2 separate regions of the Homo sapiens genome follow, and region 2 is linked to region 1. Evidence: promoter capture Hi-C in human tissues and cell types (Jung and others, 2019). All regions are on one chromosome and are shown on one strand. Each heading gives the region's core, a stretch centred on a gene start or on the middle of the fragment in contact. The rest is flanking DNA. Distances are from core to core; before and after follow the strand shown.

Region 1 (4,458 bases), core at 503-3,002:
GAAGTCGGGGAGATGGTGGGAACCTGTCCCCCGCCTTTTCTTTGCTTGGCTGCACAGCGCTGGGTGCCGGCGAGGTAGGGGGAGCCCCTCCGGGCACGCGCTGCGGGCCGCTGCAGCTGCCAGGCAGGCGCGATGCTCAGTCGGGCGCCCAGTTCGGAATGCCGGAGTAGGCCAGACCGGGCTCAACGACGCCACCTCTCGGTACATCCTTGTCCAGGAGAACCCGGTGGCGGGGAAAAGCGGGTGGAGAGGTGTGCAGGAAGCTCAGGCACCCAACTCCGCTCAGGGAGCCGTTTGTGGCGCAGGACGCAATGGTGAAGTCGAGAGTTTTCTGCTGAGCGACTTCCGTGTGCCTGTGCGTGCGTGAGGGCGAGCGGTGTGGCATGAGCGCTGGATGGGTGTGGAATTTCGCTTCACGCTTTAAACTTTTTTTTACGGCCTCTGCTACGGCTTTCCAGGGCCGCTCCCTGGACTTTGAAGGAGGAACCGGGGTTACCTGAAGGCCAAGGCTGGGGGCCGACTTGGCCGAGCCTCCCTCTTGGGCTGGAGGACTGCGCGCCTGGAGCGGATAGCAGCGACCCCGAGGCGAGCAGGAGGCTGGGAGTCCGAATGGCCTTCCGGGTTCCCTTTCGCGTGACGGGAGGGGGGGTGGGGGTGGGGTGGGGGTAGGGGGAGCCCGGCAGCCGCAGGAATCGGTCTGTTCAGCGGCTCCCGCCCCAAGTCAGCCCTTTTTCTCATCCAAGAATTCAAGCACCCCGCAAACAGGAAAACTGACCCTCCAAGCCAAGTATTGGAGAAAGTGAGCACAGATCCCTCCCCCACTCATCTTTAAGAAGCCCCTTCCTCCACTCCCCTCCCGGCGGCCGAAGCCTAGGGTCTCCAGTAAACAAACACACACAGCGTCTAACAACAAACTCCGTTAACCTGTTGGGGGCGTGGGGGGAATCGGACAAACCTGTTATCTCGAAAAGTCGAGGCGTCCCCCGCCTCGACCCCCGAGCAACTATCTGTCCCTCGCTCCCACCCACCCCCCCATTCCCCTTCGGTGTCAGGAAACAGGCGGACCCGCCGCCGGGTGGGTACTCACGCTGCTGTTGTGTCCCGACCAGTGCACCATGGCTTGGTTGTGGGCCGAGTCCCCGGTCAGCGCGAAGGAGGTGCTGGGCAGCCGGAGGTCTTCAGCCGCCGACCCCCCAGCCCGCGGCGCCTTCACCTCCTCCCGGGAACCCTTAGCAAGGGGACGGCTTCCTCTGGAACCATCGGCCGGAGCAGTGGCCCAGGCGTCCCCGCGTTCCTGGGTGATTGGGGGCTGCGCCCGGCGACTCCTCCTCGCGCCGCCAAGCTTGGCAGGAGCTGGGATGCCCCGGCCCCGCCGCTCGCCTGCCGGTGATGTCCCTCCGGCTTCCACCTGCATCTCACCGCCTCTGCCGCCGCCCTGCTGGGGCAGCAGCTCTGGTCCGGCCCGGCGCCCCAGCACGGCGGCTCTCCGCGCCGACGCCAGCTCCTCCGGCCACTGGCTGGCCACTGCCCGCGGCGAGAGTGGAGACAACGCCGGTGGCCGCGAAGCCGGGGCCGCCGGGCGTCCGGGACCGCCTGTCGCGTCCCAAGTGATCTCGGCGCCGGCCAGGACCCACGTCGACAAGAGTAGGAGCCCCGTCCGGACAAGCGGCGCCCCCGGCCTGCCTGCGGGGCGCTCCGTGCGCGCCGCCTCCATCCCGCTGCGGCTACCGCGGCTCGGGCTGCCGAGTGTGTGGCGCCCGCCGAGGTGCGGGTCCGGCGCGGGGGGTGTGCGCGCGCCGGCGAGCGAGCGAGCGTGTGTGTGTAGGGGGAGTGGGGAGGGGGCGGCCGGGAAGGAGGTGGCTCCGGCTGGCGCGCCTCGCCGGTCCTCTCCACTCTTCCCTCCTAGCTCCCGCTCGCCCGTTCTCTTGTCCAGAGGGTGATTCCAAACCCGAGGAAAATTAATAATTGCCCCTTCGGTGCTTTCTTTCTTAAAATCAGATTCCCCCCAATCCTCCCCACTGAGCTCCTCCAGAAATTTGGTAAAAAGGAGTAATCAAAGGTAATAAGAAAATCTTCTTAAAATATGAAAATCAAGCCGGATCCAGGAGGGGCCGGCAATAGACCCCAATCCCGAGTCTCTCCGAAATCCAGCCTCCAACGTGCTCCCGGCGAAGAGTTGGGAGCCGCTTCTGGACGCGTTTGGGGGTTTACTCTTCGGGCCTGTTATGAGGGGCGGGAGATGGCGCGCGGGGAGGGTACAGGGGTCTCGGGGGAGAAGGAGGAGGAGTTGTGTGCTCAACGCCAACTGTTCGCGTTCTAGAGCCGAGAGGGAGCCAGGTGCCTCCGCGCGGGGAGGCTGCGCACGGAAGCCAAGCGCGGGATGCACCCTGGACTCTGCTCGCCGCTCCCTGGCCCGGCCGGCTCCCGGCCAAACCCCGCCACCCAAGGCCTGCGCCCCCGCGCGGGGGCGTGGGGAATGCGTGCGTGCGCGTGCGTGCGCGCAGGCAGGCGGGCGTGAGGCGAGGGGTTCGCAGGGGGCCGGCGGGCAGACCGGGCGCTGCCGCGTGGGGGCACCTGGCTGAGCCGGGCCGGGAGCGCGGCTGGGTGTGAGGGGGCGCGCGGTTCCGTGCGTGCGCGTTTGCACGAGCATGTGTGCACGTTAGTGTGAGCGATGGCAAGTGGGGCGGGGGCGGGAGGTGTGCGCTCGGCTTTTGGTCGCGTGCGGATCACGCACGGGCTGTGTTTGCATTTCCAGGAGCCTGCGAGTGGTCAAAGAGGCAATGCTGAGAACTAGGCAGGCCGCTCTCGGCAGCCCCCTCCTCTTGGCGCCCCGAGCACCCACGGCCCCCACTACAAGCGGTTAGAACCTGATAAAGCCTCCTAGGGGATGAGGGAAAAGAGGCGGAAGGCCCCGGTGGGATCGGGGACTTGCCAGATCTTCTCGGTTGAGGGATTCTCCTTGCCCCGACCTCCCGGCCAGAGGTGGGGCGAGAGAGTAGTCGAGATGTCTGTTCTTCCAGGGAGGATCCAGACCTCATTTTGCTGCCTAGGATTTTGAGGTCGTGCCCTCACTCTCCCCAGTCCGTTTCTGAACGGACTCAATTGTTTCAAAGTGTCGGCCGCCAGTTAAGAGGGTACTCAGGCGGGAGCCGCGTGGGCTTATCTGGTCCCCAATCCGCTACTGCAGGAGTGTAGCCTGCGCGCTTGGTGCAGCTGAGATCCTTCGTGACCGTAGGAAGAAGGAGACTTCAGGTGGGCTGAAGGGAAATGAGCTAAACCCACAGACGACCTCGAGCTGCGGTTTACAGGCCCCAGGACATGTGGTGTAGCTCGCCGCCTCCGAGAAGCCCCTGGGATTCTAGGGGTTGAAAAGTCTGAGACTAGAGGAGCTAGAGGAGGAGCTATTAAGAAAGGAGGAGGCAGGAGGGAGGAGGCTTAGGGAGAGAGAGACAGCCTCCAGCCCTGCTCCTCCCCTTCGGGAGTAGATAGAGTTCCTCCTCTCTAGAAGATGGTTAAAGTGGAGCGAGAGGGAGGGGAATGCGCGGAGAGGAAAGAAAGGTGAGAGGAAGGAATGAAGGAGAAAATAGAGGGAAAAGGGGAGAGAGGAAAGACAAGATGAAGGAGAAAAGGGGCGAGAGAATGGTGCAAAAGGAAGAGGGAGATAGAAGAGGAGGCGAAAGGGCGCCAGGTAAGAGCCAAGAGGGATGGAGGAGGCAGAAGAGGCGACTGAGAATCTAAGCTGGCCAAGGAAGAAGACATCCAGCGATTCCCGAGAGCCCCCGCCCTCTTGAACTTGCCTTTCCACCCGGTGCCAAAATGGCAATTAGCAGCGGGGGAGGCTGGGCCAAAGAACCAAGCCAGCGACAACGTCCGGCCCAGAATGGTGCGGGTCCTGGCATCTGTGGGTTTCCAAAGACAGGGAGTAGCGGGTATTCCTAAGAAAAGTTCCAGCGCCGCAGGCCCAGGTGGGCGCGGGATCGGGCGCTGGACGAGAGCCGGCCATCCGCGAGTTCCCAGCGCCCCTGCCGGAGGAGGCCCGGCGCTGCAGCCCGAGCCGAAGCTCGGGGTTCGGGAGGGACGCGGTGCTGCTCTTCTCTTCAGGCTCTGGGCGGAGGTGCCACAGTATAAGAGATCTGGGCGGACCCGAGGCTCACACAGCCCGGAGGAGTGTGGTCTCCCAAGTCCTATGCGCACTGGGGAGGTGCACCATCCAGTCCCCGCAGCTTCCCGCGGCCTCTGAGCAGGAGCAGTCGGGTGCAAAAGAGGCAGACGCTCTGAGAGGGGCCTCCTTCTGTCTCTCCTGTCTGAAGAAGGCCCTACCAGATGGAACCCGGGCAGAGTTGGATCCTTGGGATGGGCTTGAGGAGATGTAGCTTAAAAGCTTTTGTTTGAAAACAAACAAAAAAGGAAAGACTCCCGCAAGTGTGACATTTTCACATGCCTCCTGCACCAGTTCGT
Region 2 (4,122 bases), core at 1,154-3,653, 1.3 Mb before region 1:
CACACACTAGGGCCTATTGAATGGCGGACGAGGGGAGGAAGAGCATCAGGAAGAACAGCTAATGGGTGCTTGGCTTAATACCTGGGTAATGGGTTGATCTTTGCAGCAAACCATGGTTGCCTGTGTAATAAACCTGCACATCCTGCACATGTACCCCAGAACTTAAAAGTTGATTAAAAAAATAGAGGAGGTATCATGTATAACTTCCTCTTAAACTGTAGTAAAAGGAGATGGCTCCACGTGTTCTATAGATGAGCTATGTATGAGAGGCCAAGTTTAGCAATTCAAGTCCAACTTAGCCCTGTGGCGCTTTTAATATCAGTTCCCACAGCAATCACACTGTTTCTTAAATCCCCTTCCCATACTAATAACCTTTGGCCCAACCAACCTTGATGCCAACTTGGGTGAGATGGAATTCTATTTAAGAATGTTTTCAATTCCTTCAAGTAAAGAGACCTAATGTTCATTCAAACCTCAACTATTTCTAAAACATAAAGCTCTGATTGCCTGTCAACTTGTAAATCTACATGCTTTTTCTTAATGTTTCCTTAATTTATGATACAGTAAGACTCTGTATAATGAATGTAAATTACCCAATCCTAATAAAACACAACTGTCCAGAAAAAAAAATGTTAAAATTGGGACACTTTAAAATAATGACCCAATCATAGTAAATTTTCTTGGTATTTACTCTAATAACAGGACTCCTGATGAACAATTTGATATTAATGTGGATGCCAGTCACCTGCACTTTTATAGAATTTTGACTTGAATTCAACTATAATTAACTAGACCATTAATTTAAAATGTAAGTGCACAAAATAATAAAATATCAGTTCATATATAAAAGACATCTTAGTTCTCCATGAAGACAAAAGACTGTCTCATATAATTGCTGTTTAATTTGTCTCAGTCACAGACAGAGACAAAACCAGCACAAACCTAGTTTGCATAAAACTTTCAGACCAAATGGTTCTATCTTTGGCTTGGTGCCATTGGTACAGACATTCCATTTGCATTATAAAAACATAAAATACCACTATATTTACTAATGGGATTGCTTTTTCTAACTTGTACCAAAACACATAGGGCTCCTCATGGCCTCAGTAGGTAAAGAAGAAAAGAAATGTACTTACTTACCAATAAGGCAAATGATAACATATCGGAGACTCTGTAACTTTTCTATATATTTGTCACCAGTTAATAGCAATGTTAAGGTTTTCTCAAGGCTTTAACAAACCAGCTTACAGATAGAAAGAACTGAGAAATTTGCTAGGGTATTAAATATCTGTTCCTCTGTTTTTCAGCAAGTCTAAATATACCAACTTCTGAGGGGGGAAAAAGAACTTCAAAATCCGAAACATACACATGCACAAGGAATTTGAAAACTTAGAATTACCATGATCAGAATATTGTTTTCTTTCTCCTTTCTTGAAAATATTTCTGTTTTCTCAGAAGTGTAAGCTGGAGACGAGGTGACCCCTGCTCAAAATTATCTACCATGTTCCATATGCCCATTGCCATTAGTAGATAGCTATCTGGCTTCTTTTATGGAAATTCAGTTCATCTTAATAATCTCCTCTGAATTCTTTCCAAACCTTTTGTGTCCCTCCATATTTCTGGAAAACAGATATAAAATTAATCATAATGTGCAGAAATATTTTGCAAGCCTAAAACAAAAATTCCTTTATCAATGTATAGAGCTGATATAATTGTACTTTATAAGGCTGCTAGCTTTTCCTTTTGCACATTTTTTAAATCTTCCCCTAAAAAGTCATCTAGTCTATGCTTAAATCAATGTTTCCTAAAATGAATATAGCATTTTCAGGTATGTATACGTACTGCGTATTCAACAGAAACTAAGACAATGGAAAAGAACATTGACAAATGCAGTTAGAGTCAAGTGCAAAAAAAAAGAAAAAAAAGAAAAGCCTTGTCTACCAGATCTAAAGATCACATGTGTACACATCTGCAATGACGGGTGACATTTTCATCTCCAAATGGAGGTCAGAATAGGAGGCAATAGAAAGATAAGCAAATAGGGCAGATAAATATGAGAGAGAGAGAGAGAGAGAGAGAGAGAGACAGACAGACAGACACTCACAAAAGCAAATCACACAAATATCTTTAGTCACTGGGAAAGCATGTTTAGGAAGTTTAACTTATCTTTATGTACATGGAACTTTTTCCAGCAATGGGACTTCTTAAGTAATGTAAATCTCTAGACAAGCTAGTTAGGGACATCTTTAATATTATGGAAGACGTATCTAGCAGTTTACATATACTGCACGGAGCAGGGCAGCACTTAATAACTGTTATTTAATGGAAGTTGTATATAGTAAAGATGCTTCTGGCCTTTATAATTGTGAATAAACATGGTTGTAGAAGCTTGTTGAAATTATAGGACATATATATTTTATATTGCTTTAAGAGGAGTTTATGATATATGGTAATTAAAACTTTGACGTATTGTCCAAGGCAAAGGGGAAAATCTGCTTTTAAAAATGGAATGTCAGGACAATAAGATGCCCATATAAATTGAATAAATAGTATGGAACCTATAAATTTGGCAATTCACTTTTAGAATATTCAAAGAACAAAACTCTTTTAGATGTCTAAGTTAGGTGTAAGAATATAAAGGCAGTTCCTAAATTATTAGTGATTCTGATTTCCAGCCTACTGCCTTGCCAGCAGACGTTCCTAACAAAGGACTCTATCACATAGTGCAGTGTAGAACTGGCCAGTCTTCAAAGGTTGAACACATCCTGATACATCCATATGCTTCTCTACTGTTTGAATTCCTATTACACACTGTCAAAGCTATACATAAATAATCTCCTTTAATCCTCATATCAACACTCCATCACTTTCAAGTAGAGAAAACTGAGTCTTTGAGAGTGTCAGCAGCTTGCCCAGGTCACATGCCAACCCAGATGCTTAATGATCATCTGCCTAGACAGATATTTGAAAAAAAGATATCTTACTCAAAGCAGAATTTGATTAGTCCCAGAATGTAGGCAATTAATTCCAGGGGCAGAAGTTTAGAGATTTCAGTAGCAAGCTTTGGTATCATTCATTTATTCATTAATATAGTTTCCAGATACTATTGAGTACTGCCTACGTGCCGTGCACTGTGCTCAAGTTAATTATACTCTTAGAGAAGGAGATATGCTGAAAGCTGCTCTATATGTCTTCTAGCAGGTCAAGAGAGAAGACAGGCTGTTCCTAGGAAACTATAGTTGAGTGTCCAGAAGAAGCTTAGGGCAGTATGACATGAGCAGTTTGTTCACAGATAGGGTGTTTGTGAGTCAAGAGTGTTGCAGACCTATGAAAGTGAGTATTTCATTTTGAGGACCATAAGTTATTTACATGTGTATATAGAAACATACATAGAGAAAAATATGTAAGCAGTAGAAAAGAGTACGAAGAAAGAAAAAAATTCAAACAACTCATTTTTATGCTTTCCTAAGCAGCAGCTATGGCAAAGATTTGAGTGCAACTAACCTATGTGGAAGGTGAAATCAGGAAGTACTCTTAGCAGAGTATGGAATAAAGACAATGGAAAGAATCCAATGAGGGTGCCTTAATGAATAGTTGACTGCTGAAAACAACAGGAGTTCAGTCTCCTGGAGACCTCTGGGAGACAACAGGGACCATTCCTCACAGCTGTAACCCCCTGTACCCAAGGGGGACGAAGCTGGATTGTTTATTCTCTAAATACCATTTATCATTCCCAGAGGGCTGTCCTCCCAACCTTCGTTTTTCCTCACTTCCTGATTATTCCACATATAGGGCTGGAGAAAGATGAGAGGCAGAGTTCCAGAAATTGCCAGTAGAGCACAGAAAAGCTTGCATAGGAAAAACAAAAGCTAGTGGGTATGGAAAGAGCATTGACAACACCTGCTAAGACCCTCCATTCATAGAAAACCACTGTCAACATTCTGGTGAATTTTCTCTATTCCATTTCTCCATTCCAGTCATACATCAATAAATGCATTTAGCCAATGGTTTCAGTATTATATTTGTGTTAGTTCACTCATGTCTTAGGTATCCCAAAAAAACTGTAATTTTAAGCAGCTGCATAATGTTTTATTATGTATGGCTTATAAATAATTTGTCCAG

What was found. Contacts are between HindIII fragments. The study calls those that stand out against the background at their distance.
Region 2: a fragment that was not itself captured here is called in contact with the fragment with the promoter of SORCS3 in region 1 in 1 of the 25 tissues and cell types used here (dorsolateral prefrontal cortex).

Annotation. Positions count from the first base shown.
Region 1 is chr10:104,638,584-104,643,041 of GRCh38, reverse strand. SORCS3 (sortilin related VPS10 domain containing receptor 3) reads right to left here and starts at 1,752. Exons shown (of 27, transcript NM_014978.3): 1 at 1,088-1,752. The coding sequence starts at 1,714. The HindIII fragment of the contact is 5,425 bases long and covers 1-4,458 here.
Region 2 is chr10:105,939,623-105,943,744 of GRCh38, reverse strand. No RefSeq gene overlaps it. Among named protein-coding and RNA genes, the nearest start is that of LINC02627, 120 kb to the right of the region's middle. The HindIII fragment of the contact is 5,696 bases long and covers 1-4,122 here.